Regions from separate parts of the Homo sapiens genome. Here regions 1, 2 and 3 are each linked to region 4. The links are contacts of gene promoters, found by promoter capture Hi-C in blood cells and fetal thymus (Javierre and others, 2016). All regions are on one chromosome and are shown on one strand. Each heading gives the region's core, a stretch centred on a gene start or on the middle of the fragment in contact. The rest is flanking DNA. Distances are from core to core; before and after follow the strand shown. Region 1 overlaps BCL9L (BCL9 like). Region 2 has its middle 33 kb from the start of CXCR5. Region 3 has its middle 24 kb from the start of DDX6. Region 4 holds the start of TREH (trehalase).

Evidence for each region. Contacts are between HindIII fragments. The CHiCAGO score rates a contact against its expected background, and 5 or more counts as called.
Region 1: a fragment that was not itself captured here is called in contact with the fragment with the promoter of TREH in region 4 in 2 of 17 cell types (naive CD4 T cells and total CD8 T cells); the score reaches 7.8 in naive CD4 T cells.
Region 2: a fragment that was not itself captured here is called in contact with the fragment with the promoter of TREH in region 4 in 1 of 17 cell types (naive CD4 T cells); the score reaches 6.2 in naive CD4 T cells.
Region 3: a contact is called between a fragment that was not itself captured here and the fragment with the promoter of TREH in region 4, in 4 of 17 cell types (naive CD4 T cells, total CD8 T cells, non-activated CD4 T cells and 1 more). The highest score is 9.3, in naive CD4 T cells.

Annotation. Positions count from the first base shown.
Region 1 is chr11:118,901,176-118,907,224 of GRCh38, reverse strand. It overlaps BCL9L (BCL9 like), which reads left to right. Exons shown (of 10, transcript NM_001378213.1): 6 at 3,773-3,989; 7 at 4,151-4,235; 8 at 4,317-6,049. Among named protein-coding and RNA genes, the nearest start is that of MIR4492, 6.5 kb to the left of the region's middle. The HindIII fragment of the contact is 3,900 bases long and covers 329-4,228 here.
Region 2 is chr11:118,847,038-118,853,773 of GRCh38, reverse strand. No RefSeq gene overlaps it. Among named protein-coding and RNA genes, the nearest start is that of CXCR5, 33 kb to the left of the region's middle. The HindIII fragment of the contact is 5,498 bases long and covers 1-4,149 here.
Region 3 is chr11:118,811,880-118,818,020 of GRCh38, reverse strand. No RefSeq gene overlaps it. Among named protein-coding and RNA genes, the nearest start is that of DDX6, 24 kb to the right of the region's middle. The HindIII fragment of the contact is 2,869 bases long and covers 1,440-4,308 here.
Region 4 is chr11:118,675,225-118,681,313 of GRCh38, reverse strand. It overlaps TREH (trehalase), which reads left to right and starts at 1,664. Exons shown (of 15, transcript NM_007180.3): 1 at 1,664-1,775. The coding sequence starts at 1,687. RefSeq lists enhancers at 1,113-1,772, 1,773-2,434. The HindIII fragment of the contact is 8,736 bases long and covers 1-5,805 here.

The DNA of each region.
Region 1 (6,049 bases), core at 1,029-3,528, 230 kb before region 4:
TACCTGTGAATTCCTGGCCTATGCTGCCACCTACTGGTTAGTGGAGGGAGGGCGGTGAAGCGTCCAGGGACACTGGGAGCCGGGCAGTTGGCTCTGCTGTGCAAAGCCCTGCTAAGCCTGGGTGTGAGTTGCCACTTGGCCGTGTCTCTAGTGCCCTTCCCTAACCTCTAATTGACTCCTGGCAAGTACCCAGGGTGTGTCACCAGGACAAGAAGTGGGTGTGGAGGGATGCCCACTCCTCCTCTGATTCTTTTATGGATTCGCCTATATCTTGTCCTTCCATGAGTGATGGGGGAGAGCCAGATGTAACCCCTGCCCCTGGGAAGCTTGTACATATTTTTTTTCCCTCAAAGTTTACGTTTACATCTTTTTGAGGAGAGAGACATAAGAAACTAGCCAGAGAGGCTGGGTGTGGTGGCTGTCACCTGTAATCCCCAGAATTTGGGGAGCTGAAACCGGAGAATTGCTTGAGCCCAGGAGTTCAAGAACAGCCTGGCCAACATAGGGAGACCCCATCTCTAAAAAGAGAGAGAGAGAGAAAGAAAGGAAAGAAGTAAAGAAAGAAGAAAAAGAAACTAGCCAGAGACTATTAAATTGTGAACTCCTTGAAGGCAGGGACCATAGAAAGAAGAAAGAAAAGAGTACATTGGCTACTTTGCTACTCTGTTTTATTTAATCCTTACAACAGCCCTGTGAGGTCAGTGTTATCATGATGCCAATTACAGAGGAGGAGAGAGAGTCAGCAAATGTTATGGAGTGAGCAGACTATGTCTGTGACAGGGGTGTAGAGGGTCAAATACCAAACCTCTACAGCTAGCTGGAACCTCACAGACCATCCTGTATCAGTTCTCTCTCCCCCGTGGGACTAACCTGGTGGTCGCCAAGCCTCTGGCTGAACCCTTTGATGATAGAAGCCTTTACTGCTTCCCAGACCAGACACCTCCCCCCATAGCCACCACCTCCAGTTCACTTATGTCACATCAGACTGCACCATTGTAGAAACTTTGTGAGTTTTATTTATTTATTGTTTAGAGACAGGGTCTCTCTCTGACACCCAGGCTGGAGTGCAGTGGTGTGATCACAGCTCACTGCAACCTCAAACTCCTGAGCTCAAGTGATCCTCCCATCTCAGACTCCCAAGTAGCTGGGGCTCAGGCATGTATCACACCTGGCTAATTTTTGTAGAGACAGTCTTGCCATGTTGCCCAGGCTGATCTTGAACTCCTGGTCTCAAGCGATCCTCATGCCTTGGCCTCCCAAAGTGCTGGAATTACAGGAGTGAGCCACTGTGCCTGGCAAACATAGGGAAATACAAAGTAGAAATTGCTAACATCCCATACTCAAGGCGACTATTTTAGTCGTACTACCCTTAGATTCTTTTATTTATTTATTTATTTATTTATTTTTGAATCGGAGTTTCACTCTTGTTGCCCAGGCTGGAGTGCAATGGCACGAACTCGGCTTACTGCAACCTCTGCCTCCTGAGTTCAAGCGATTTTCCTGCCTCAGCCTCCCGAGTAGCTGGGATTACAGGCACCTGCCACCACGCCTGGCTAATTTTTGTATTTTTAGCAGAGGTGGAGTTTTAGCATGTTGGCCAGACCGGTCCTGAACTCCTGACCTCAGGTGATACACCTGCCTCAGCCCCCCAAAGTGCTGGGATTACAGGCGTGAGCCACCCGGCCTGATTCTTTTTTTTTTTTTTTTTTTTTGAGACAGAGTCTCACTCACTCTGTTGCCCAGGCTGGAGTGCAGTGGCACAATCTCGGCTCACTGCAACCTCCACCTCCTGGGTTCAAGTAATTCTCCTGCTTCAGCCTCCCAAGTAGCTGGGATTACAGGCATGCGTCACCACGCCTGGCTAATTTTTGTATTTTTAGTAGAGATGGAGTTTCACCATTATGGCCAGGCTGGTCTTGAACTCCTGCCCTCAAGTGATCCGCCCGCCTCGGCCTCCCAAAGTGTTAGGATTACAGGCATAAGCCACCGTGCCCGGCCTGCCCTTAGATTCTTGAAGAGTTCTTACTGGAGGGGCGATAGAACGTAGACATTGACAGGACTAGTTCTGCCATCAGGCTGCCTTCGTTTGCAACCCAGGTTATTTCTGTAAATTTGGGAAAGGGCCTCAGTTTCCTCATCTGTAAAAGTATTATTTATCTCATAGGGTTGGTATGAGGAGTAAATGAGGTTATACATGTAACATGTTAGCTTTTATCATTGTTATTGTACTAGAAAGTTCCTTGTTGGACTAAGCCCTGCCTGTCTCCCCATAGCTCGTATCCAAGAGCTACTCAGCAGCCTTCACACATTGAGGTCAGCTCTCAAGCTCCCCCGCAAATTTCTGGCTCTGCTCTTCTATGTAAAATTGGATAGATAGGGTCCAGAGCAGGGCCGTTTTGGGGTGGGTCCATCAGAGAAGAAGGTGCAGAAGAAACTTTTTCCAAAGAGGGCAGCCTGACACTGGGCCCATGGGAAGGTGGTCACTGCCCTGGCTGGATGGAGACAACTTCAGGCAATCTGTCTCCCATTAACTGAGAATGCTGGTACTTACTGTCTGCGGGCCAGGAACTGTGACTTGCTTTTCTTGGCATGCGAATGGGTCTACCCACTCACCTAGACCCGTTGTAGATTTTTTTCTACGCTAAGACTTACAGTCAAGTGTCTAACCATGGAACAAAACTTCCCTTGGTGCTGAGGGCAGCTGGTCTGTCTTGAGAGTGTTTCCAGTATGTCAGCTTTTTCTAACTGTTTTTTCTTTCTTATTTTTATTTATTTATTTATTTTTTTGAGACAGTCTCGCTCTGTCGCCCTGGCTAGAGTGCAATGGTGTGATCTCGGCTCACTGCAACTTCCACCTCCTAAGTTCAAGCAATTCTCATGTCTCAGCCTCCTGAGTAGCGGGATTACAGCCATGCGCCACCATGCCCAGTTAATTTTTGTATTTTTAGTAGAGACGGGGTTTCACCATGTTGGCCAGGCTGGTCTTGAACTCATGACCTCAGGTGATCCGCCCGCCTCTACCGCCCAAACTGCTGGGATTACAGGCGTGAGACACCGCTCCCGGCTCTCTGTTTTTCAAATGGATTTTTTTAGTCTGTGACATTGATTTAAACTTACTGTTAAAAAATATATTTCTTTGGCCTGCCCCCTGTGCAAGGAGGAGGTTAGTATTTTACATTTTATAGATGAAGAAACCGAGGCTTAGAGGGATGTCTGGTTCATAAAATCACAAAGTCAGTTAGTGGTGGGGCTAGAGTGAAAAACCATCCATCATTTGGATCATCAGCTTGTGTACCCTCTCTGCCTTCTCCCTAACTGGGTCACTAGACTGTGTGCACATACACTTACCCAGTGAGAGGGGCAGCAGCTCAGAGCGGAGCTTCAGAGTCCCGGCCCTGGGTTCAGTTCTGGCTCTGCACTAACTGGCTGTGTAACTGTGGGTGAGGAACTTATTTCCTCCTTTGTTAAGTGGAGTGTGTGACACGTTCCTCCCAGGGTGTGTTGATGAGATGAAATCACACCTGTTAAGTCCCCAGCAGAATGCCAGGCCCATGGGAGCCTGTGGAGAGGACACATTTTCTCTGTCCCTGCTCTCCACATGGTCACCACTCTTGCCATCGTGGAAACCAGCCTGGTGAGAACACCAGATACTGACATCAAATGTCCCTGTGGGCACGAGCTGTAAGGCTGTGAGCATCAGTGGGAGGGGGCATCAGCTGGTCCTTCTTGTATCTAGACCACTTAGCCCCTTTCCCTGTCCTCTCTCCTGCAGATTGTAATGTAGCAGACCCAGCCATGGCGGCCCCACAGCTGGGTCCCGGCCAAACCACCCAACTGCCCCTCAGCGAGAGCAGCGTGCCAGGCGCCCCGCACGGCCCTCCTCCTGGCCTTCGGCCTGATGCCCCTGGGGGCGGGGGCGGGGGCGGGGGCGTCCCCGGAAAGCCTCCCTCGCAGTTCGTATATGTCTTCACCACCCACCTGGCCAACACGTAAGTGCCTGGTGGGCAGGCCAAGTCTCTCTCTCTCTCTGCCCAGCACCTCTCAGCCTGGGGTTCCGAGGGAGCCCCGTGCAGGGGCAGGGTGGGGTGGGTGAGGGTGGGGCTCCCTCCTGCTCACCTCTCTGAGCTGTCGGTGCCCCCACTCTGTGCAGGGCTGCAGAGGCAGTGCTGCAGGGCCGGGCCGACTCCATCCTCGCCTACCACCAGCAGAACGTGCCCCGGGCCAAGCTTGACCAGGTGAGCGTGGCGCCTCTGTGAGCAGCAGGACTGGGTGGAACGTCCCCTTACCTGTCTCATGCTCTCTTTGTCCTTCTGCAGGCCCCTAAAGTGCCCCCCACCCCAGAACCGCTACCCCTGAGCACGCCGTCAGCAGGCACCCCGCAGTCCCAGCCACCTCCACTGCCGCCGCCGCCACCCCCGGCCCCTGGCAGTGCCCCGCCTGCTCTGCCCCCAGAGGGGCCTCCTGAGGACAGCAGTCAGGACCTGGCCCCCAACTCGGTGGGAGCTGCCAGCACAGGTGGTGGGACTGGGGGCACCCACCCTAACACCCCGACGGCTACCACCGCCAACAACCCTCTGCCTCCTGGAGGAGACCCCAGCAGTGCCCCCGGCCCTGCCCTGCTGGGGGAGGCAGCCGCCCCTGGAAATGGGCAGCGCAGCCTGGTGGGCTCAGAGGGCTTGTCCAAAGAGCAGCTGGAGCATCGGGAACGGTCCCTCCAGACGCTGCGAGACATTGAGCGACTGCTGCTCCGCAGCGGAGAGACTGAGCCCTTCCTCAAGGGGCCCCCAGGAGGAGCGGGTGAGGGGGGCCCACCAGCACAAGCCCCCCCTCCCCCCCAGCAGCCACCCACGGCCCCTCCCAGCGGGCTGAAGAAATATGAGGAACCCTTGCAGTCCATGATTTCACAGACACAGAGCCTAGGGGGCCCCCCGCTGGAGCATGAAGTGCCTGGGCACCCCCCGGGTGGGGACATGGGGCAGCAGATGAACATGATGATACAGAGGCTGGGCCAGGACAGCCTCACGCCTGAGCAGGTGGCCTGGCGCAAGCTGCAGGAGGAGTACTACGAAGAGAAACGGCGGAAAGAGGAACAGATTGGGCTGCATGGGAGCCGTCCTCTGCAGGACATGATGGGCATGGGGGGCATGATGGTGAGGGGGCCCCCGCCTCCTTACCACAGCAAGCCTGGGGATCAGTGGCCACCTGGAATGGGTGCGCAGCTGCGGGGGCCCATGGATGTTCAAGATCCCATGCAGCTCCGGGGCGGACCTCCCTTTCCTGGGCCCCGTTTCCCAGGCAACCAGATACAACGGGTACCTGGGTTTGGGGGCATGCAGAGTATGCCCATGGAGGTGCCCATGAATGCCATGCAGAGGCCCGTGAGACCAGGCATGGGCTGGACCGAAGACTTGCCCCCTATGGGGGGACCCAGCAATTTTGCCCAGAACACCATGCCCTACCCAGGTGGGCAGGGTGAGGCGGAGCGATTCATGACTCCCCGGGTCCGTGAGGAGCTGCTGCGGCACCAGCTGCTGGAGAAGCGGTCGATGGGCATGCAGCGCCCCCTGGGCATGGCAGGCAGTGGCATGGGACAGAGCATGGAGATGGAGCGGATGATGCAGGCGCACCGACAGATGGATCCTGCCATGTTTCCCGGGCAGATGGCTGGTGGTGAGGGCCTGGCGGGCACTCCCATGGGCATGGAGTTTGGTGGAGGCCGGGGCCTCCTGAGCCCTCCCATGGGGCAGTCTGGGCTGAGGGAGGTGGACCCACCCATGGGGCCAGGCAACCTCAACATGAACATGAATGTCAACATGAACATGAACATGAACCTGAACGTGCAGATGACCCCGCAGCAGCAGATGCTGATGTCGCAGAAGATGCGGGGCCCTGGGGACTTGATGGGGCCCCAGGGCCTCAGTCCTGAGGAGATGGCCCGGGTTCGGGCCCAGAACAGCAGTGGCGTGATGGGCGGCCCGCAGAAGATGCTGATGCCTTCACAGTTTCCCAACCAGGGCCAGCAGGGATTCTCTGGAGGCCAGGGACCCTA
Region 2 (6,736 bases), core at 151-2,650, 170 kb before region 4:
TGGCTCACGCCTGTAATCCCAGGACTTTGGGAAGCCGAGGCGGGCGGATCACGAGGTCAGGAGTTCGACCTGGCCAACATGGTGAAATCGCTACTAAAGATACCAAAAATTAGCTGGGCATGGTGGCGTGCGCCTTTTGCTACTCGGGAGGCTGAGGCAGGAGAATCACTTGAACCCAGGAGAATGGCTTGAACCCGGGAGGCGGAGGTTGCTGTGAACACTCCAGCCTGGGCGACAGGGAGAGACTCTGTCTCAAAAACAAACAAACAAACAAACAAACAAAAAACACACGTTGCAGTGAAGAAGCCAGCCAAAACCCACCAAAACCAAGATAGTGACAAGAGTGACCTCTGGTTGTCCTCACTGCTCATTATACGCTAATTATAAAGCATTAGCATGCTAAAAGACACACCCACCAGCGCCATGACAGTTACAAATGCCATGGCAACATCAGGAAGTTACCCTATATGGTCTCGAAAGGGGAGGAGGCCGGCGCGGTGGCTCACGCCTGTAATCCCGGCACTTTGGGAGGCCGAGGCGGGTTGATCACGAGGTCAGGAGATCGAGACCATCCTGGCTAACATGGTGAAACCTCGTCTTTACTAAAAATACAAAAAATTAGCCTGTGGTGGCGAGCGCCTGTAGTCCCAGCTACTTGGGAGGCTGAGGCAGGAGAATGGCGTGAACCTGGGAGGCGGAGCTTGCAGTGAGCCGAGATCGCGCCACTGCACTCCGGCCTGGGTGACAGAGCGAGACTCCGTATAAAAATAAATAAATAAATAAATAAATAAATAAATAAAATAAATAAATAAATAAAAATAAATTTAAAAAAATAAAAAGGGGAGGAACCCTCAGTTCTGGGAATTGCCCACTCTTTTCCCAGAAAACTCATGAATAATCCACCCCTTGCTTAGCATATAATCAAGAAGTAACAGTAAGTATCCTCGGTCGAGCAGCTCAAGCCACTGCTCTGCCTATGGAGTAGCCATTCTTTTATTCCTTTGCTTTCTTTTTGTGGACTTTCACTTTGTGGACTTGCCTCAAATTCTTTCTTGCGCATGGTCCAAGAACCCTCTCTTGGGGTCTGGATCGGGACCCCTTTCCGGTAACAAGATTAGAATGCCATTCTTGACTGACTTAGACCGGAGCAGAATAGGAGAAATCATCACCTTCTTGAAGTGTGTGCCAGTCGGGGCCATCCTTGCTGATCTTGGGAGGAACTTCTCTCTTGACCCAAGAGGGAAGGGATGGAATCATTTCACAAGGCACAAAGACACCGTCTTGGCGACAAGCAGGAAGAAGCCATGACCCGTTCTTCCTGTGGGCCAGGCCAGGAAGAGTTGAGTCCCAGGTGGCCATGCCAAGTTCCAAAGGGTGATGTTGAAGAAGACTGCAAGTGATGCTGAGATTGAGCTCTAGTGTTTTACAGAAGCAAGCAGACCCCTGGACAGAGGCCTCTTGACAGAGCAAACTGCTGGGGGCAAGCAGTGTTCAGAGAGTCAGAGCAAATGTGAGAATGGCTGGAGCAAAGAAAATGTAACTACTCCCTCCTCTACCCACCCCTCCTCCAAGTAACCCTCAGCCCGTCTGTCCCAGTTCAATGGTTACACTTCTTGACATTATGTTACAAGCTGTTGGTTCATATTTAGCTTGTGGTTGGCCTAAACCACCAGATCTTTTTCATACAAACTGCTATCTGGCCAGTTCCTTCCATCCCATGCTTCTAGTACACGTGCAACTAATTTAAAATAAAGCAAAACGTAAATGCAAGATATCCCACATACAATTTAATTCTGTTTGATTCTGGTCAGCTGAAATAATTAAAAGTTTTAATTCTGTCATCTTTTGTAATAATTCCCTTCCCAGTTTGCATCATCTGCCAAAGTGGTAAACATTGATTATTTTGTCCTAGCAGGTAGTGAGAATGCTGAACAGGACCAAGCAGAGTCCTCTGGCATAATGCTACAACAGGGGTCCCCAAAGTGTGGTCTGGGAATATCAGAGGTCCCAGAGACCCTTTCAGCGGGTCTGTGAAATCTAAACTATTTTCATTGATTGATTGATTGATTGATTGAGACGGAGTCTCGTTCTGTCGCCCAGGGTGGAGTGCAATGGCACGATCTCAGCTCAACGCAACCTCTGTCTTTCCGGTTCAAGAGATTCTCCTGCCTCAGCCTCCCAGTGGCTGGGATTACAGGCACCTGCCACCATGCCCAGCTAATTTTTGTATTTTTAGTAGAGACAGGGTTTCCCCATGTGGGTCAGGCTGGTCTCGAACTCCCAACCTCAGGTGATACACCCGCCTTGGCCTCTCAAAGTGCTGGGATTACAGGCGTGAACCACTGCACCCAGCCCCAAAATTTTTTTTTTTTGAGACGGAGTCTCGCTCTGTCGCCCAGGCTGGAGTGCAGTGGCGCAATCTCGGCTCACTGCAAACTCCAACTCCCGGGTTCATGCCATTCTCCTGCCTCAGCCTCCTGAGCAGCTGGGACTATAGGTGCCCGCCACTACGCCCGGCTAATTTTTTGTATTTTTAGTAGAGACGGGGTTTCACTGCGTCAGCCAGGATGGTCTCGATCTCCTGATCTCGTGATCCACCCGCCTCGGCCTCCCAAAGTACTGGGATTACAGGCGTGAGCCACCGCGCCCGGTCCCAAAAATTTTTTTTAAAAAAGAAAATAAGCCGGGCATGGTGGTTAACGCCTGTAATCCCAGAACTTCGAGAGGCCGAGGCAGGCAGATCACCTGAAGTCAGGAGTTCAAGACCAGCCTGACTAACATGATGAAACCCCGTCTCTACTGAAAATACAAAAATTAGCCGAGTGTGGTGACAGATGCCTGTAATCCCAGCTACTTGGGAGGCTGAGGCAGGAGAATTGCTTGAACCTGGAAGGCAGAGATTGCGATGAGCCGAGATCGCGCCACTGCATTCCAGCCTGGGCAAAAATAGTGAAACTCTGTCTCAAAAAGAAAAGAAAAGAAAAAAAATTTGGACTGAGCACAGTGGCTCATGCCTATAAGCCCAGCACTTTGGGAGGCCAAGGCAGGCAGATCCCTTGAGGCCAGGAGTTCAAGACCAGCCTGGCCAACATGGTGAAACCCCATCTGTACTAAAAATATAAAAATTAGGCCAGGCACAGTGGCTCACACCTGTAATTCCAGCTTCTTAGGAGGCTGAGGCAGGAGAATTGCTTGAATCCGGGAGGCGGAGGCTGCAATGAGCTGAGATCGTACCACTGCCCTCCAGCCTGGCAACAGAGCAAGACTCCATCTTAACAAAATAATAATAATAAAAAATTATCTGTGAACTGTTATAGTGCTTACATGCCATTTTCACTCTTGTTCTATCACAAAATGTGGAATGTTCCAGAGGCTACAGAATGACTGATATCACACTAGACTACATGCAGCACCAGTTATGAGAATCCAGCTGTCTTCTGTGAAGCCAGAGATGAATAAGATTTGTAAAAATGTAAAACAAAGCTGCTCTTTTCTCACCAACTTCTTTTTCCTTTTGAAATGTAGTTGTGTTTCATAAAAGTGTTTGAGTATGTTTGGGCTGCTATAACAAAATACCTTAGGCTGAGTAATATATAAACAACAGAAATTTATTTTTCACAATTCTGGAGATCGGGAAGTCCATGATCAAGGTGTCAGCAATTTTGGTGTCTGGTGAAAGCCTGTTCCTCATAGATGGCTCCTTCTTTGTGTCCTCACAAGGTGTGAGGAGCAAGGAAGCTCCTTCAAGCCTCTTTTACAAAGGCACTAATCCCTCGATAAGGGTGGAACCTTCATTACCTAATTACCTCCCAAACACCCCGCCTCTTAATATCATCACCTTGGGGATTAGGTTTCAACATATGAATTTTGGGGAGTACGCCAACATTCAGATACTAGCAAAAGTTATTTATGTATGTTATTTATGTTGACACACAATGAGTTTATTATTATTTTATTCTGTTTTTTGAGACAGAGTCTCACTCTGTCGCCCAGGCTGGAGTGCAGTGGCGCGATCTCGGCTCACTGCAACCTCCGCCTCCCAGGTTCAAGCAATTCTCCTGCTCAGCCTCCTGAGTAGCTGGGACTATAGGCGCCCACCACCATGCCTAGCTCATTTTTTTATTTCCTAAAAATATTTAAGTGAAAGCTTTTTTTTTTTTTTTTTTTTTTTTTGAGATGGGCTGGAGTGCAGTGGCTCAATCACAGCTCACCAAAACCTTGAACTCCTGGGCTCAAGTGATTCTCCCATTTCAGCCTCCCAAGCAGCTGGGACTATAGTCATGCAACATCACACCTGGCTAATTAAAAAAAAAATTATTTTTGGCCAGGCGCAGTGGCTCACGCCTGTAATCCCAGCACTTTGGGAGGCTGAGGTGGGCGGATCATGAGGTCAGGGGTTTGAGACCAGCCTGATCAACATGGTGAAACATGTCTCTACTAAAAATACAAAAATTAGCTGGGCGTGGTGGCAGGTGCCTGTTATCCCAACTATTTGGGAGGCTGAGGCAGGAGAATCACTTGAACCCAGGAGGCGGAGGTTGCAGTGAGCCGAGATCATACCATTGTACTCCAGCCTGGGCGACGAGAGCGAAACTCCGTCTCAAAAAAAAAATATTTTGTACAGACAGGGTCTTGCCATGTTGCTCAGGCTGGTCTTGAACTCCTGAGCTCAAGAGATCCTCCTGCCTTGGCTTCCCAAAAGGCTGGATTACAGGCATGAGCCACTGTACCTGGCCAACCGTGGTACTTGGTTTGCAATTGATCTATGAAATGCTTTCTACTCTATACCTTTTAGAAAAGACCACCAGATGCAGTTTTCTTTTAGTTGGCAGGGCTGCAGTACACCTTCATGTCGCTACCTCAGGGCTCCATGCACTCTCTAACCTCTGTCATAATCTGGTCTGAGGAGAGGAACATGTGGTGAGGAACTGAGGCATCCTGCCGAGAAGCAGCAACAACTTGTACTGTGTGCCTGGAGTCACAGCTGCTTGGGAGACTGAGGTGGGAAGATCACTTGAACTCAGGAGGTGGAGACTGCAGTGAACTATTGTGCTAATGCACTCCAGTCCTGGTGACACAGAAAGGTGCTATCTCAAAAAACAAAACACAACAGAAAAAGCGACCAAGTGCCATGGGATGTGTTGATTTGCTTTAGCGATGAAATTATACCTGGAACAGCAGCTGCAATTGGAGTTACAAGGCTGTGGATAACCCACTTTCATTCTCCTGTGTCCTTCAGTCTGCTGACAGGCAAACAGGTGATTTGAGCAGGGATATGGTAGGAATTACCACCTCTGTGTCTTTCAAGACCTTGTTAGTGGCACTAATCTCATCAAGCCTTCCAGAAATGTGATACTGTTTTTGGTTTACTATTTTAGTATGTAGACACAGTTCTAGTGGATTCCACTTGGCCTTTTTTATCATGATAGCCTTCGTGCCATGGGTCAGAGAACCAATACAAGAAGTCTACCAGTTGTTGCCGGGCGCGGTGGCTCATGCCTGTAATCCCAGCACTTTGGGAGGCTGAGGCAGGTGGATCACGAGGTCAGGAGATCGAGACCACCCTGGCTAATGCAGTGAAACCCCATCTCTACTAAAAATACAAAAAATTAGCCGGGCGTAGTGGCGGGCACCTGTAGTCCCAGCTACTTGGGCAGCTGAGGCAGGAGAACGGCATGAACCCGGGAGTCGGAGTTTGCAGTGAGCCGAGATTGCGCCACTGCACTCCAGCCTGGGTGACAGAGCGAGACTCCGTCTCAAAAAAAAAAAAAAAAAAAGAGTATGTTGTTGAGTATGTCTACTCATACACCTACTGAATATATCTAAACTGCAATGTATACCCACCTGTGCATTCTGGAACTGGGGAAATAATGATGCGATGAGTTCTGGGAACTACTGGGCTTGCTGTGAGATGGAGCCAAGCCAAAACTTCATAGATCATCTAACTTCCATGAGCCTCTGCTCTGACAATGGGACACAGTGCCATTTTGGTTCTCCGGGGATTAGCACCAGTTCAGAGCCGAGGTTTACTAACTCCTAAGTATCTGGTCATTTCTCCTTCTCAAAGCACAGTCACCCTGCGTTATGGCTTCAGGTCTCTTTGAGGAAATGCTAAGAAGATTTACCGTGTAACTTTTTGACAGTGTAGTAAATCCTTCCTCAAAGGATCTTTCCTTCATTCAAGGGGACTGGGTTTGGGGACTGTCTCTAATCTAAGAATTGATTGAAGGGCTCTTACTCTTTATTGTCAGAAGTCAGCCGGGTGCGGTGGCTGACGCCTGTAATCCCAGCACTTTGGGAGGCCGAGGGGGATGGATCACGAGGTCAGGAGTTGGAGACCAGCCTGGCCAACATGGTGAAACCCCGTCTCTACTAAAAATACAAAAATTAGCCGGGCGTGGTGGCGCGCGCCTGTAATCCCAGCTACTTGGGAGGCTGAGGCAGGAGAATCACCTGAACCTGGAAGATGGAGGTTGCAGTGAGCCGAGGTCTTGCCACTGCCTTCCAGCCTGGGCAACAGAGTGAGACTCTGTCCCAAGGGGAAAAAAAAAGCAAACTTCTAAAGCCATTCCCAAACAACTTGAACAGATACCTTAAATTCAGAATCTCTGCTTAGTACACATTTTGCTTCTTTAAATTTTTTTTTTACATTTATTTATTTTTATTTTTTTTTTAGAGACAGGATTTTTCTCTGTTGCTCAGGCTGAAGTGCAATGAATGGCATGAACCTAACTCT
Region 3 (6,141 bases), core at 1,625-4,124, 140 kb before region 4:
ACGCCTGGCCTCAAGTGATCCACCCACCTCGGCCTCCCAGAATGCTGGGATTACAGGCGTGAGCCACCGCGCCCGGCCATTGGAGACAATCTCTATCTCCACATGCAATAGAATGGATAAACTAGGTTATTTCACTCAATGGAACAGCACAACAAGAATGAACAAACTACAACTACATGCGACAAATGTGTGAATCTTACCAACATAATGTTGAGCAAAAGAAGTCAGAAAGGAAAATATACCGTATAATTTTATCTAAAGTTCTAAAATAGTTAAAACTAATCTATGGTGTTTGAAGTCAAGATGGTTTTTTGTTTGTTTGTTTGTTTGTTTGTTTGTTTGTTTTGAGAGAGTTTCACTCTGTCACCCAGGCTGGAGTGCAATGGTGTGATCTTGGCTCGTGGCAACCTCTGCCTCCTGGGTTCAAGCGATTGTCCTGCCTCAGCCTCCTGAGTAGCTGGGACTACCAGCGCGTGCCACCAGGCTCAGCTAATTTTTTTGTGTTTTTAGTAGAGACGGGGTTTCACTGTGTTAGCAGGATGGTCTTGATCTCCTAACCTCGTGATCCGCCCGCCTCCGCCTCCCAAAATGCTGGGATTACAGCCATGAGCCACCACGCCCGGCCCAAGATGGTTTTATCTATCTCCCAACTGAGGGATTTTTCAGTCTCCAGAAGATTGGTAGAATTATGGTGAGTATTTATATCCAGTGAATAAGCATATCTTTTGGGTAAGATCCCAGCTCCTATATTTAAAGTGTCTGTGTTCTCAATATAAATCAAATAATAAAATAATACTTCAACAAAACAATAATTATTGCATTAATACAGTAAATTCTCCCCCTTTACAATAGAAGCTCCATGGGAGCTGGGATTTTGTCTTAATCACTGCTTTATTTTATTTTTATTTTACTCATGGGTGCCATAGGACACCTAGAACACACAGCACCTAGAACAGTCCTTGGCACATAATAGGCACTGAATAAAAATTTCTTGGATGAGATAACTATATTCAAACAGAACAGCATAGCACAGAGGATAACAGTATGTGTTCTGGAACCAGATTGCTTTGGTTCAAATCCCAACTCTGCCACTTTCTAGCTATGAGACACTGGACATGTTATGTAATCTATCCATGCCTCAGTTTCCTCATCTGTAAAACAGAGAGACTACTAGTATATTCCTCTTAGGGTTGCTGTGAGGTTTAAGGAACACTTGTAAAGATAACGTATGGAATTATTTGATGACTACCATGACAAAAGAGGGCTTGCCCTACCTCTTAGAAACATAGGAAATTTGGTGTCTTCTGACCATCTGTGTGACATACAATAGAATAAATCATTTTAAAAGCTAATACACATTAAATAAATGAAATGAAGAAAACTTTAAAATTATTAAAATTGAAGAGTCCAGCAAGATTTTCTGTAAGTGAAGACAAGCTTATTCTAAAATTTATACAGAAAGTCGAAGGAGCTAGAATAGCTAAAACAATTTGGAAACAGAAGAATAATCTGGAAGCAATCATTCTGTCTGATGTTAAGATTTACTGTATTGCTACAGACTCACTGTAAAGATATAGTAATTTAAACAGTATGGAGTAGTGACAGATACACAGGTCAATGGAACAAGCCAGAAATTGATTTTTGACAAAGGAGCAAAAGCAATTCAATGGAGGAAGAATAGTCTTTTCAATGAATAGCCCTGTAGAAATTGGACATCCATAGGCAAAAGAAAAAAAAAAAGAACCTTGACCTAAATGTCACTTTTTTTTTTTTTTGAGACAGAGTTTTGCTTTTGTTGCCCAGGCTGGAGTACAGTGGTGAAATCTTGGCTCACTGCAACCTCCACCTCTTGGGTTCCAGTGATTCTCCTGCTTTAGCCTCCTGAGTAGCTGGGATTACAGGTGCACACCACCATGCCCGGCTAATTTTTTGTATTTTTAGAGGAGATGGGGTTTCACCATGTTGACCAGGCTGGTTTTGAACTTAGCTTAAGCGATCCATCCACCCACCTCAGACTCCCAAAGTGCTGGGATTACAGGCGTGAGCCACTGCACCCGGCCTAAACTTCACATCTTACACAAAAATTAATTCAAAATGGATTGTGAATTTATATACAGCATGTGAAAAAAGTTAATCACTGTATGATTCCATTTCTGTGACATTCTTTTTTAAAAATTTTAATTTGATTTAACTTAATTTGGCCAGGCACGGTGGCTCACGCCTATAATCCCAGCACTTTGGGAGTCTGAGGTGGGTGGATCGCTTAAGCTAAGTTCGAGACCAGCCTGGTCAACATGGTGAAACCCAGAGTATACAAAAAGTACAAAAATTAGCTGGGCAGGATAGCATGCACCTGTATTCCCAGCTACTCGGGAGGCTGGGGCGGATCACTTGATCCCAGGAAGTTGAGGCTGCAGTGAGGCAAGATGGCACCACTGCACTCCAGCCTGGGCAACAGAGTGAGACCGTCTCAACAAAAATAATTATTTTTATTCATTTATTTATTTTTGGAGACAGAGTCTCGCTTTGTCACCCAGGCTAGAGTGCAGTGGCACTATCTCGACTCACTGTAGCCTCTGCTTCCCGGGTTCAAGCGATTCTCATGCCTCAGCCTCCTGAGTAGCTGGGATTACAAGGGCATGCCACCACGTCCTGCTAATTTTTCGTATTTTTAGTAGAGACGAGGTTTTGCCATGTTGACCAGGCTGGTCTTGAACTCCTGAGCTCAGGCAATTTGCCTGCCTTGGCCTCCCAAAGTGCTAGGATTACAGGCGTGAGCCACCTTGCCCAGCCCTGATTTTTTTTAACTTAATTTTATTTTTTGTAGGGATGGGGTCTCCTTATGTTGCTCAGGCTGGCCTTGATAAACATTATTCTCTTTTAAGTTATTATCATTATTATTATAACAGGAGAACCATTCAGCCACACACTGCCTGACATAGAGTAGGCAATCCATACATATTTGCTGAATGAATAAATTATAGGTACAGGGAAAAGATGGAAGAGTGATAGATTTTCTTTTTTTTTCTTTTTCTTTTTGTCTTTTTCTGAGACAGGGTCTCATTCTGTCACCCAAGCTGGAGTTCAGTGGCATGATCTTAGTTCATTGCAGTCTCCACCTTGCTGGCTCAAGTGATCCTCCCATCTTAGCCTCTTGAGTATCTGGGATCACAGGTGCACACCAACATGCCTGGCTAATTTTTGTATTTTTTGTAGAGGTGGGGTTTTCCCATGTTGTCCAGGCTGGTATCAAACTCCTGGGCTCAAGCAATTTTCCCGCCTGGGCCTCCCAAAGTGCTGGGATTACAGGTGTGAGCCACCCTGCCAGGTTGAACTTATGTTCTAATGAGGGAAACAGACTTAAGGCCTTATGGCTTTGAGCTGAGGTTTTGAGGATAAGCAGATGAAGAAGGATGAAGAATATACTGGGAAATGAGAATATAAAGATTAATTGAGGCTGGCCATGGTGGCTCACGCCTATAATCCCAGCACTTTGGGAGGCCAAGGCAGGAGGATTGCTTGAGCCCAGGAGTTCAAGACCAGCCTGGGCAACACAGTGAGACTCTGTCTCAAAAAATACAAAAATTAGCCAGGCATGGTGGTGTGCACCTGTGGTCCCAGCTACCCAGGAGGCTGAGTGGGGAGGATCACCTGAGCCTGCGGAGGTCAAGGTTGCAATGAACCGAGATGGTGCCACAGCACTCCAGGTTGGGCGACAGAGCAAGATCCTGTCTCAGAAGAAAACAAAAGAATCAGGTTACTGTACAGCCCAAATATGAAGAAAATGGATTCAGGCAAGTAATCAAAGCCTAGGAAGTTAATAAATGAACTATGAATTAATTATTCTCTCCTTTGCCTTCTCCTTCTCTCTTCTCTTTTCTTCTCCCTACGATATAGTCATAACTTGGGGAAGGATATGATCGCACACGGCATAAAGTGTGGTGACATTGCTAATGGGATGAGAAGCAGATCAGCTGGGGAGGAGATTGGACTTTCTGAGGAAAAGCTCCTGAAATGTCCTGAAGTAACAGGTGGATCTAATGTCAGAGCTGTTTGTAAAATGGAAAAAGGGTGAGATGTGTCATCTTCTGGGATAAGTGCTATCAGCATGATAATCCACATGTTATGCACCTGCTTGTGTTTTTGCTGCTGGGAGCACTTTCCACCAACACACAACTTACTAATGAGGAAATTGCTAAAGAGAACCCAAGAGATTAAACACAGATCTGCAAAGAGGGATGTGTTTACATCCTACATGTGAGTAGAGTGAGTATATTTTTAGGGTAGCAAGTTCTGGCCAAGCAAGCTTAACATGTAAACATGAGAATTGCCCTACTTTAAGGGACCCACCCAATTCGATATTCTGTTTTGGAGTGTGGAACTGAAAACATAATTAGTATATAGAACTTAATGTATAAATGGCCAATTTAGTTTTCACTGTTTGCTGTCCTGTAATAAACCTACATCATCTTCTGAATGAGATTGACTCTCCACTAGGACAGGGTCCCTATTAAATCACCAGCTACCTGGCAACTTTGGAAAAAGTCATTCTGGATAGACAAGTTAAACACACAGACAAGGATGACTTCTCCAGACATGAATTTTAAAATGTATATTACACTTTTCCGCCTCACACCTGTAATCCCAGCACTTTGGGAGGCTGAGGTTGGAGGATCACTTGAACTCAGGAGCTTGAAACCAGTCTGGGCAACATAGCAAGACTCAGTCTCCACAAAAAAATTAAAAACTAGCTGGATGTTGCGGCACATACCTGTAGTCAGAGCTACCCGGGACGCTGAGGTGGGAGGATTGCTTGAGCCCAGGTAGGTTGAGGCTGCAATGAGCCGTGACTGCACCATTGCACTTCAGCCTGCGTGACACAGTGCGACCCTGTCTCAAAACAAACAAACAAACAAAAACAACCAAAAAAACCCAAAACCAAAACAAAAAACCCCCAAACCTTTTCTAAATAGATCATGGTGATAACAATGTTATATAATAAAGTTTGTAGAACCATTTTTTTCTACAGCAAATGTCCCAGAATGCTGCACTTCTATGTGGAATTTGTATAGTTTTTCCTGTCAGTCTCCCTGTTATCCACTTCTACTTCTCTTTGCTGTAAGGGTAGAGCTTACTTAATACAGACTCTCTTTCCTTCTAATATACGGTCTAATCTGCTATGGACAGGTGATAATTGTTACATTTGCACACTTTACCAATTACAAAGTGCTCATCAGACCTTTGCAGGTGATATCATTGTCTTTGGATCATAGCCCTGGGGCTGGGGACTTGACCTTGCCTGGCCAATCAGAATATTCCATCTCCCTTACCAATGATTGGTTGTGGGATGGACACATGACCCAAGCTGGGCCTGTTAGAATCTGCCCTGGGAGTTTCATGAGCGTCATCAGGAAAGTGTTATCGTGACGTTATCATGATGCTTTTGTTTTTCTTTCTGTATTTTTTGAGACAGGCTCGTGCTCTATTGACCAGGCTAGAGTCCTCCAGTGGCATGATCACAGCTCAATGCTAGCCTCTAACCTCCTGGGCTCAAGGGATCCTCCCACGTCAGCCTCCCTAGTAGCTGGGACTACAGGCACAGGCCACCTTACCTGGCTAATTTTTAAAATTTTTTGTAGTTTTGGTAGAGATGGGGGTCTCACCATGTTGCACAGGCTGGTCTGGAACTCCTGAGCTCAAGCAATCCTCCTGCCTCAGCCTCCCAAAGTGTTGGGATTATAGGTGCGAGCCACCATACCTGGCCCTGTTGTTATCTTATGCATAAACTAGCAGGTAAACCTGAGCTTCCAGAGTCCCTCTTGCTGCCACACAAAGAGCCTAAATACAGGAAAACAGCCGAAAGAGAGACAAACTTGACAACAGCATTTGAAAACCTGAATCTTGGACTTTTCAGTTTGCACAAACTCCTTCACCTACCCCACCACACATATCAACATTTTGTATATATATATATATATATATATATATTTTAAATATATATATTTTTTGAGACACAGTCTCACTCTGTCACCCAGGCTGAAGTGCGGTGGCGCTATCTTGGCTCACTGTAACCTCCACTCCCAGGTTCAAGCCATTCTCATGCCTCAGCCTCCCGAGAAGCTGGGATCACAGGTGTGTGCC
Region 4 (6,089 bases), core at 415-2,914:
CAGAGTGGTGCCTGATTCATGAGTCATTTCTTTGCTTGAATAAATGGTTAAATTTAATTTGTCTAAGGTTTTTCTTTTTAATAGCAGTAAACACTGCTCAGGTGCCACAACTGACATCCTTAACTGCAAACCTAAGTCCTTCAGGAGAGGTCATGCCTATCATTAAACTCCATGTGCCTTGCCCACCCCCTGTCCCCTGTCCCTTCAGCTCACCTTCCATATGTTGAGGGGATGAGCCTCCTAAAGTAACCGAATCTGCTTTTTTTTTTTTTTTTTTTTTTTTGAGACAGAGACTTACTCTGTCGCCCAGGCTGGAGTGCAGTGGCATGATCTCGGCTCACTACAACCTCTGTCTCCCGAGTTCAAGCGATTCTCCCACCTCAGCCTCCTGAGGAGCTGGGATTACAGGTACCCGCCATCATGCCCAGCTAATTTTTGTATTTTTGTAGAGACGGGGTTTCACCATGTTGGCCAGGCTGGTCTTGAACTCCTGACCTCAGGTGATCCACCCGCCTCGGCCTCCCAAAGTGGTGGGATTACAGGCATGAGCCACTGCACCCAGCCTGAATCTGCTTCTTAAGCTCACAAACTTCTCTGCTGGTTCCACTTTGGGGAATTACAAGGAATTACATTCCTTGGCTTGGCAAAGACCATTTCCAGACTGGTGCCAACATGTTCCTCCAGTCTATCTCAAAACCCTTCCCTGCATGAACACCAAGTTCTCTGCAGCTAGGCTGAGGGGTTTGCTCTTCTCTTCACATGCTCTGCATACATTGTAGTGGTCTCCAGCCCATTTCCCTTGGCAAACTCCTATGCGGTCATCAAGACTCATTAGGACTGGCGCAGTGGCTCACGCCTGTAATCCCAGCACTTTGGGAGGCCAAGGCGAGCAGATCATGAGGTCAAGAGATTGAGACCATCCTGGCCAACACAGTGAAACCCCGTCTCTACTAAAAATACAAAAATTAGCTGGGCGTGGTGGCGGGCACCTGTAGTCCCAGCTATTCAGGATGCTGAGGCAGGAGAATTGCTTGAACCCGGGAGGCGGAGGTGGCAGTGAGCTGAGATCACGCCACTGCACTCCAGCCTAGCGACAGAGTGAGACTCAGTCTCAAAAAAAAAAAAAAAAAGACTCATTACAAATGACACACTATTGTGGGTCTCCCTTAGTCCTCCCCAGACAGAATGGTTCTACTGTCCTGTGCTTCCGCTGTATCTCTTGCAGATAACAGTGAGAGGCCCTGAATTTCACACCACACCAGGGACAGGATCTTGAGCCATTCCATTTGAAATGTTAAGGGAAATGGTAACTCTCTGAGGTTGGTGGTCTTGGGGCCACCCAAGGAACCTGGCATCCAGGTTACAGGTGTGTGGCCTCGACTGTGTCCCTGGCCTTTGGGTGCCCACTCCCCACCCCCACCACCATGCTCTGAGGGAAGGGCCTGAGCCATTGGCACCAGCTGAGACTGTGAAATAGAAGAGGCAAAGTAGAAGCAAGGGAGGTGGCCACTGTGCCCTGAGAGCAGGAGGGGCAAGCGGGCCACACACAGACCAAGCACACGTCCCCTCAGGTGGCCACGCCTCAAAGGCTGGACTTTGGCCGACTTGGACAGGCAGGTGAGCCAGGCTGTGCCCAGCAAGCCGAAGGTGCCTGGGCTTGCTCATTCAGTCACAGTCACAGCCACCATGCCAGGGAGGACCTGGGAGCTGTGCCTGCTACTGCTGCTGGGGCTGGGACTGGGGTCCCAGGAGGCCCTACCCCCACCCTGTGAGAGGTAGGGGTGTGGGGAAGGCAGCAGGGGAGGATGGCAATAAGAGGGAGGCTGGGATGAGATCTCAAGCTCTGGGGTCGGTACTTCAGAGGGAAAGGAAGAGATTATAAAGGAAGGAAAGAGTAGGGAAGAGAAGAAAATGAGAATTCCTATGTAGCAGGCTCTGTGCTGGGCACTGCACCTGCAGTCCGTTTTTTTTGTTGTTGTTGTTAGAGTCTTGCTCGGTCGTCCAGATGGAGTACAGTGGCACCATCTCCACTCACTGCAGCCTAGACCTCCCGGGTTCGAGAGATTCTCGTGCCTCAGCCTCCTGAGTAGCTGGAATCACAGGCATGCACCACCACGCCCAGCCTGTCATTGATTTTTACCAAAATTTTCCACCGTTGGAAGGGACATTAGGCTTGGCGACTGTGCTGGGAATACAAGCGTGAGCCACCGCCCCCTGTCGGGACCTGCAGTCCTGATACCAGACGCAGCTGCCAGAGCCTGGCCTGAGGTCCAAGAGCCTGCTGGCCAGAGCCCGCCCTCCCTTCCTCTCCTCCTCCAAGCTGCCCCTTGAACTGTGCAGGCCTCTTCTCAGGATTGTTCTAGCAAACTTTCTGCTCCAGCTTCCTAGTCTGGGTGTGAGAGGCAGCCTAAGGGCCTGAAGACAGCACTTGGGCTTGAGCCCTGACCCTCATATTCTCTCTGTGACCCAGGGCAGGTCAAGGCTCTTTCCTGAGCCTGAGTTTCCATCACCAGGGACAGAGATGAGTGACCCTGTCCTGTCTCCTGGACTCAGGCGATGTCCACCCTTCGTTCCACATGGATTTATGGAGCTGTGGCCACATCAGCCACTTTACCAGCTCCTGCAAGAACAATAATAATAGAAGAAAAACAGCTGGGCACGGTGGCTCATGCCTGTAATCCCAGCACTTTGGGAGGCCAAGGTGGGAGCTATCATCTGAGGTCAGGAGTTCGAGACCAGCCTGGCCAACATGGTGAAACCCCATCTCTATGAAAAATACAAAATTAGCCGGGCATGGTGGCGCACGCCTGTAATCCCAGCTACTCGGGAGGCTGAGGCAGGAGAGTCGCTTGAACTTGGGATGTGGAGGTTGCAGTGAGCCAAGATCATGCCATTGCACTCCAGTCGGGGCAACAAGAGCAAAACTCTATCTCAAATAATAATAATAATAATAATAGAAGCAAAACAGTAACAGAAGCACAGTTTGAAGTAGAGAGAAGTTAGGGCCCGCTGGTGTGGGTGAGCAGAGGGTGTGTTAGAGAGGATGGGGAGGGACGGTGTCTCTGAGGAGGTGATGTGTAAGCAGAATTGTGGCAGGAACCATTGCTGAGCTGATCTGGGAGAGGACAGTCCAGGCATGGAAAGGGCCATGCAGAGGCCCTGACGCACTGTTCAGGGATTGGGACGAAGGCCTGTGTGATTGGGGCAGAGTGGGAACAGGTCCGGGGAGAGCGGGGCTCCAGGCAACAAGGTTTGGGCTTGGGTTCCAGTGGTTAGACTAGAGACAGAGACAAGGGGTTCAATAGAGGGTGTGTGTTACAGGGAGAGTTGACAGTGCTTGCCCATGACAATTGTGGAATATAAAGGGGAAAAGTGTACCTGGGATAATTAATAGGTTTTGTCCTGAGCAATTGTAATGAGGACTTCAGAGAGGCTGGGTGGTCCAGTGCTTTGTCAAGCATTAGGCTGTTTGCCAAATGTAGGGGAAGATGACTTTACTGGTGTTCCCTAAGACCAACCTCAGGCCAGTGATTCACTAACACTTCCAAATGGTTATACCATGATTATGGTTTCATTTTTTTTCTTTTTTTGAGACAGAGTCTCGCTCTGTCGCCAGGTTGGAGTGCAGTGGTGCAATCTCGGCTCGCTGCAACCTCCACCTTCTGGGTTCAAGCGATTCTCCTGCCTCAGCCTCCCCAGTAGCTGGGACTACAGGCACCTGCCACCACGCCCAGCTAATTTTTGTATTTTTAGTAGAGACAGAGGTGTTGCCATGTTGGCAAGAATGGTCTCAATCTCTTGTCCTTGTGATCCGCCTGCCTCAGCCTCCCAAAGTGCTGGGATTACAGGCATGAACCACCGTGCCCAGCCTTGATTATGGTTTCTTACAGTGAAAAGATACATGTTAAAGCCATCAAAGGTGAAATATTCTAGGGCCAAGTCCAGGAGAAAATAATCTCAATCTTCCAGTTTTTCCTCTCCCAGTGGATTTATATGGACAGGACTTGATTTTTCCAGCAATAACATGTGACAGCACGCATGAAGTATTGCCAATCACAAAAGCTCACCTGAGTCTTGGTGTCCAGTGTTTTTATTGGAGGTCAGTGATGAAAGCGTGGACTACCTGTGTGGCTGACCTCAGTTACTCACTCTCCAGAGTTCAAACTGATACTGGGCGGCCAAAGGCCCCTGCCACAAATCACATTATTAGCATCAAATATCTGGCATGGCCCAAGGCCCCAGAAAAACAAAGACTTATCAGGCAGCATATTTTGGTAATTTAAATCTCATCTCTCAGGGCTGGTCACAGGCCAGAATTTTCTCTGAAATGTGCAGGGTTTGAACACAGCAGACCTGCTGAGTCAATCCTTTCATGTATAAGCCACTTCTTGTATAATGAGGAATTAGTTTCATTTTTGTCTTGGGTTCCTCCAAAGTAACCTCTAAGCTCCTTGGAATCTCCCAAGTGATAGGAATGTCTGTTATTAATAGTGGTCCCTGATTAGTGTTTTTTTGTTGTTGTTTTTTTCTTTCTTTTTTTTTTTGAGACAGCAATCTAGCTCTGTTGCCCAGGCTGGCAGTGCAGTGGTGAGCATTTTGGCTCAATGCAACCTCTGCCCCCAGGGTTCAAGTGATTCTCCTGCCTCAGCCTCCCAAGTAGCTGGGACTATAGGCACGCACCACCACGCCTGGCTAATTTTTGTATTTTTAGTAGAGACGGGGTTTCACCATGTTGGCCAGCTGGTCTTAAACTCCTGACCTCAAGCAATCCACCCACCTTGGCCTCCCAAAGTGCTGGGATTACAGGCATGAGTCACTGCACCTGGCCTGATTGCTTTTTGAGACAGGGTCTCACTCTGTCACCCAGGCTGGAGTGCAGTGGTGCAGTCATGGCTCACTGCAGCCTCAATCTCTCTGGGCTTAGGTGATCCTCCCACCTTGGCCTCCTGAATAGCTAGGACTAGGTGTGTGCCACCATGCCTGGCTAATTTTTGTATTTTTTGTAGAGATGGGGTTTTGCCATGTTTCCCAGGCTCTTGGTAGCTTTTGTTAATGAGGTGACTTATGGTGGGTCCCTAGACAGCTTCTGCTAACAAGACGACTCCACATGAAGGCAGGCCGTGCCAGAAAGGCCAAGCATGTGTGTAGAGGGTTGGGGTTTTGGTCCACATGATATCAGCCCAACTTCTCAACCTTCAGGGAGGAGAAGGGGCTGGAGATGGAGTTCAATTACATGATCAATGATTCAATCAATCATGCGTATGTCATGAAACCCCAATAAAAACTCTGGACTTCAAAGTCCTGGTAAGTAGGCTGGGCACAGTGGCTCATGCCTGTAATCCCAACACTTTGGGAGGCCGAGGTGGATGGATCACTTGAGGCCAGGCATTTGAGAGCAGCCTGGCCAACATGGTGAAACCCTGTCTCTACCAAAAATGCCAAAAATTAGCAGGGTGTGGTGGTGCATGCCTGTAATCCCAGCTATTGAGGAGGCTAAGACGTGAGAATCATTGACCTGGGAGGTGGAGGTTGCAGTGAGTTGAGATTGCACCACTGCACTCCAGCCTAGGTGACAGAGTGAGACCCTGTCTCAACAAACAAACAAATAAAACAAATAAATACCAAGTCCTGGTTGGTGAACACATTGATGAGCCAGGAGGGGAAACGTCCTGGTTCCATGGGGAAAGGACACAGAAGCTCTACATTCAGGGCCCCCCTAGACCTTGCCCCATGCACCCCTTCATTTGGCTGATCCTGGCTTGTATTCTTATAATAAAACTATAGCCCTAAGCATAACCGTAAGCTTTTCTGAGTCCTGTGAGTTGTTCTAGCAAATTATCAAATCTGAAAGGGTTATGGGAACCCCTACATTTGTAGCCACTTGGTAATAAGTGCAGGTGGCCTGGGGACCCCTGAACTTGTGGCTGGTGTCAGAAGTGAGGCCGTCTCACTCAGGACCGTGCCCTTAACCTGAGTGTGGATTCTGCACTAACTCCCGATGGTTAGTGCCAGGATTAAATTGCAGTATTGCAGTTGGTGTCAGAAAATGTGGATTTACTAGAATGACCCTGACTCACTGAAACATATGG